Regions from separate parts of the Homo sapiens genome. Here region 1 is linked to region 2. The links are contacts of gene promoters, found by promoter capture Hi-C in human tissues and cell types (Jung and others, 2019). All regions are on one chromosome and are shown on one strand. The core of a region is centred on a gene start or on the middle of the fragment in contact, and the rest is flanking DNA. Distances in the headings are between cores, read along the strand shown. Region 1 overlaps RCAN2-DT (RCAN2 divergent transcript). Region 2 holds the start of RUNX2 (RUNX family transcription factor 2).

The links. The method cuts DNA at HindIII sites, captures the fragments that hold promoters and counts their contacts. A contact is called where the count stands out against the background at its distance.
Region 1: a contact is called between a fragment that was not itself captured here and the fragment with the promoter of RUNX2 in region 2, in 1 of the 25 tissues and cell types used here (dorsolateral prefrontal cortex).

What each region holds. Positions count from the first base shown.
Region 1 is chr6:46,501,425-46,504,124 of GRCh38, reverse strand. All of the region lies in intron 1 of RCAN2-DT (RCAN2 divergent transcript), which reads right to left. Among named protein-coding and RNA genes, the nearest start is that of RCAN2-DT, 11 kb to the right of the region's middle. The HindIII fragment of the contact is 4,989 bases long and covers 1-2,700 here.
Region 2 is chr6:45,326,978-45,329,677 of GRCh38, reverse strand. It overlaps RUNX2 (RUNX family transcription factor 2), which reads right to left and starts at 1,348. Exons shown (of 9, transcript NM_001024630.4): 1 at 1,218-1,348; 2 at 894-1,017. The coding sequence starts at 951. All of the region lies in intron 2 of SUPT3H (SPT3 homolog, SAGA and STAGA complex component), which reads left to right. RefSeq lists an enhancer at 1,579-1,619, a promoter at 1,026-1,666 and a cis regulatory region at 2,624-2,630. The HindIII fragment of the contact is 4,056 bases long and covers 1-2,700 here.

The DNA of each region.
Region 1 (2,700 bases), core at 197-2,696, 1.2 Mb before region 2:
CACTCACAAAAACATATTAGACTACTAGCTGAAATGGAGTACCGGGGCTTAAATCCTATCAGATATTATGAATCCCAAACCATTAGTGGTTGCCAGTAGCCACATTCCATCACTTCTTTTCCTCTAGAAAGTATTGCCTTTAGGTAGGGGGTTCCTGTCAAAGAAACAATATTTTTTGCTCTCAGATAAATTCAAGTCTATGATGGTACATGTTAAGATTAAGTATATTGATTATTTGAAAGGTTTCCTTCTGAGATAACTTCAAATTCTTTTATATTCTTTTTTTTCCTCTGTTTTCCTTCCATGTCAAAATTTGGACAAATTATTATCAGTATTTTGCCATGTCAATCCTTAACTTGCTGTGTGCTGACAAATGTCTAATTGAGTACAAGGCTTAAAATCATTGAGCATTGCCCGAGTGAAGTTTGGCTGTGGAAAGTAAGAATGGAATGAAATAACATTTAATTTAATAAGAATGAAATGAAACTTTAACCCACCAGCCTTGGTTCTTCTTGATGTATCTTTGGGCCTGAAATGAGGTTTCAGTGTTTCTTTGCCAAGTGTGGAAAAATTTTGAGAATAACCGACTAGCAATCTTCTCACCAGGGAGCAGGTAGAACTATTTTTATTGAATTCTAGAATATTAAATTTAGGAAAAAACTGTTATAGATTATATAAATCACTTATCTTCCCCAGTATTTTACAAATGAGAAAACTGAGGCCCAGAGAATTTAGCCCATTGTCACACAGCTAATTAATTGATGGCCAAGGAAAACTAGACATTTGGGTCTCTTTTCCACTTTATCAGCAGCCATTTTATTTATGCCACTTATTCTATGTTTATCCCTATATTATTATACTAGATATACTAGGGAAGGTGGTTACAATTGCTCTAAAATTGAAACTACAGATGGTGTAATGTTTCCAAAATTCAGGTAAGAAAATATCAGAGGTTAGGGTACAGCATTCTGGGTGATCTATTCCTGAAATGTGGACCTCTGAGCTGCAAGTCTGGGGCAGCTCTTGAATGTACAATTGAAGGGAGGAAAGGTTTCATTGGAACACAAGTAGTCTTCTTGGAGTGGCAACTTTCTCTTTCCATCACATGACCAGTAGCCACTGTGTGTATGTGTGTGTGTGTGTGTGTGTGTGTGTGTTAGGGGAGGGAGGAGAACTAAGGCAAGTCCCTGTTGCTGGCACAGCCCAGCCTCACCAAGAAGTCACAGTGCTCCCATCTTCCCCAGTTCCAAGTTGGGTGGGACCCAGTCACATTTCCCATGGATGTCCGTGTAGGCCATCTGAAATGCTATTTCAGAGACAGAGTGTTCTAAATCAGGTTTGTGTTTTGGCAGAGGAATGGAACCCTCTTTTCTAATATTACTTCTGTGGGAAAGTGTTTTCTGAGATCCAAACAACTCAACTTACAAATGCATTTTTGGAATATGACCCATTTGTATGCTGAGGACTGCTTGTTCCAGGGGGAAAACAACTTCCCATATACAGCTTGGTGGAACCAACTGCAGGCATTTCTTATGTTGATATTATTCAAAGAATATTATATAATGTGCCTGAAATGTGAAGCACATTCAGGCTTTCTTCCAGGTAGGGTTGGTTACGAGGTAAGCAGCTCTCCTATGAGGTAGGATTTAAGGATGAGATGAGTCCCTCCTTTCCCATTGATGCCCTCAGCTTGGTCTTATCAAGCTCTCTGATATTGTAAGTGTGAATTAAGGTGGGAGTTTTATGTGAGCTGAATCAGTATGTTGGGCACAACTTTTTCTTAAACCCAGGTTCTTATTTCTGTTTTGACTACTAAAAATACAGATTCACAGGTCCTACTCCTAAAGACTTTCAGGGAAGTGAGAGATAGGATTTAGTAACCTGTATATTTTAAACTTCTTGAGAAAAATTGGTAAAGTTGCTTCTGAGGCAAGATATAATATTTACTGATTCACTAATCATTAATTTAATTATTCATTCTTTCCTCATATACCAAGGTGTGTTTATTGCAACGTAGGTACTGGGTACCAGGCATAGAAAGATGAGAAAAGTACATGCATAGTAAGAGAAGAAAGTGATGTAGGGACTACTGATACTGTTTGGTGAAATTTGGGAGATTGGCATCACACGGAAGTCTTCACAGAGGCATTTATTTATACACGAAGTAACAGCTGAGTCATAGAATGACTAAATTCTTAAGCTAGATAGCCTGGATTCAAAGCTCAGCTCTACCACTTCCCAACTTAGAACCATTGTCAAGTTGCTTAGCTTTCTGTGTCTCAGTTTTCTCATCTGTAAAATGGGGCAATCTTAGTACCTACCTCAGAGAGCTGCCATGAAGATTAAATGTGCTGATGTAGCTCAGGTTTTTAGAAAAGTGAGCTCAAGCTTCAGCGCACATCAGAATCTCCTGGAACTCTTGTTAATTAACATAGGTTTCTGGGTCACCACCCCGAGTTTCTGATTCAATAGATAGAGGGTGGAACTGAGAATTTGCATTTCTAAAAATTTCCCAGGCAGAGGGAAATGCCAGTGCATGGCATGGAAGTGAAAGCTGGGGACAGAAGAGAGAGAAACTGACAGAGAGACAGGATGGACAGTGGCCACCAGACTATAAAGAGCCTTGTCCCATTTAAGTGTAGATGTTATCCAAGAGTAACCAGAGATCCTATTATCAGCCATTAGCACCTTCGCTGAAAT
Region 2 (2,700 bases), core at 99-2,598:
TTTAAAAATCATACAGGGTATCCTTATGGAGCTTTATTTTTCATGAGACTAAACAGCAGTTATTCATTTTGGTAGGTCCAAGAATGTGATTAAAAGAATCTTAGACGTTTCAGTGTTTCAGTGTGTTTATAACAAGGTCTATGGATAACAGTGTGTAGATGTAAAATTAAAATTACATAGAAAAATGCAGTTGCATGTAAGTTTTAAAATACTTCCATGAACTTTTTAATATCCTGGGCAACTATAAAGATCTTTTAAAAATGGCTGTGATGTGCTTATCATAATTTTATTTCAGCTGAATGTATACTTATATAAAGTTGTTTAGAAACAAACTTATTTAGATAGGATACAGTTTGAATTTATAAGTAGATTTCTTTTAGTTGAGCTGGTTAAAATGTTAACTGTACTACAGGTTTATTTCTGTGTTATACATGGTAGACCATAATGTTGAGATAATTCTGTGGTCTGTTATTTTGTAAAATTGCTTCCTTTTTGAAGTTTGCTCAAATATTGGGAGCTGCCGGAGTCAATAATTTATAATGCTTTGATTAATTTAGGATCTGACTTTTCTTCTGGTGAGGGTTAATGAGAGTATTAAACTGTTTCTTTTACTGTTTTCATATCCTCACCTCTATAACTCTAGAAAACATTTTGATCAATGTGAGATAATTTAATTTTGTATATTTCAAGTCATTACTTTGAAAATTAGATACATTACAGATACCAAATGCAAATATATACAGAAATTTCATTTTTCAATTCTTAATGCAACAAGATAGCATAATTAGGATCTTTAATATGCTATTTGGAAAAGCTAGCAGTTTATCAAAGAATCATACCTTTATGTTTAACAGGTTCATATCTTACAGGATTTTAAAAATGGTAACACTTACCCCAAAAGAAGTTTTGCTGACATGGTGTCACTGTGCTGAAGAGGCTGTTTGATGCCATAGTCCCTCCTTTTTTTTTCAGATAGAACTTGTACCCTCTGTTGTAAATACTGCTTGCAGCCTTAAACTGAAAATACAAACCATACCCAAACCTTGTTTTAGTTTTACAGTATGCCTGGAGTACATAGACTTTATATTTATTTTTTTCTGTCAAGAAATTATGTAGCTGGTAACATGTGAAAAGCAAAGAAACAAAACAAAAAGAGAATGAGCAAATATTTGAAGGACCTACTATTACTGCATAGACTGTGGTTAGAGAGCACTCACTGACTCTGTTGGTCTCGGTGGCTGGTAGTGACCTGCGGAGATTAACCATTTAAAAACCAGAGACTTCTTGCTGTCCTCCTGGAGAAAGTTTGCACCGCACTTGTGGTTCTGTGGTTGTTTGTGAGGCGAATGAAGCATTCACACAATCCAAAAAAGCAAAAGCTTTAAAACTCCTTTTTTTTGCAAGCACTATTACTGGAGAGGCAGAATCATGTGGTTTGTGACCTCACAGTACTCTTAAGTAAAGTGGGACTGCCTACCACTGTGGCTTTTCCCCCTTGCTCTTTCTCTCTCTCTCTTTCTCTCACAAAAGGCTTGTGGTAAGGCCTTTCCTGGCATCCAGAAGGATATAGCTTTTTAATTTTTGTGACTCATGAGGATTTGGATAGAATACAAATGCTGAAGGAGCCCAAACTCCTGTAAGGTTAAGCATTTGTAGAGCAGAGCTCTGCAGTTAAGGGCTTTCCTTTCTACTCCCCGCTCAACCTCTGCCTTTTTGCCTCCTCTTTTTAGTTCATTATTGTGTCTGTGGAAAAATGAACAAAATTGGCTCAAGAGTCTGTGTGAAATTCTGAACAACAGTGATGATATACAATAATTCACATCTTTGGACTGTATCACATTCTGGGGTCTGCTTCATATTTGCTGGGTGGCTGGATTCCTTCTGTTTTCCTTTTTCTTGTCTTCTTAAACTTGTGAATCTGTAACTCATTGTAAAAAAAAAAAAAGTTTACCTTAAGGTCTGGTTGCAAACTGCTTGCTAGGCTTGACTATAATTGGCTGTCATGAAAGTGTTAGTCTGGGCATTCTTTTACAAATTTTAAATCACGTCTGTCTAGTTTATTATCAATCTATTAGATGGCGGCCTTTACAATAAAGATTAAATGTAATGTTTCATGTATACCATTATCTCATGCCTAGTTTGAAGATCTTAAAAAAATGAATGACAGGGATTGTAATATAGTTTATTGGATGAATCTTAGTTTTCTTTATGATTGTAATATTTTTTGTCTTTCATTGAAGTGTATTCAGTTTATATAGTTCTTTAAGTAGTTTAGACATTAATAGAGTTTCTGATAGCAGATCTTCTATAAAGTAAAATGCTTATGTTATAATGTAGATTGTTCAGTATTTGATTCTATGAGCTTAGAATAGAGTGGGTTAACAGAAGCTATGTATTTTTTTGTTTCTAATGGAAGCTTTGAAATAAATTACAAAATGCTGTGTGTAGTAAGGAATAATGCCCACAGACAGAGTATGTTAGTCGTCTCGATTTGCTAATTCTGATTCAGAAGAAAATTGGAAACATCTTTGGGAAACTATCTCCTTTTTTGCCCCTTTGGACAAGTATGTATAGAACTCATTTTCTTATTAGGATGATTATATATCATAGGCAGTGAATTTTATATTTATGAATAGAGCTTCCTGTTTTCATCAGTTGGGAGCGATGGAGTATTTTTCAACCAAAATTATAAAGGCGAAC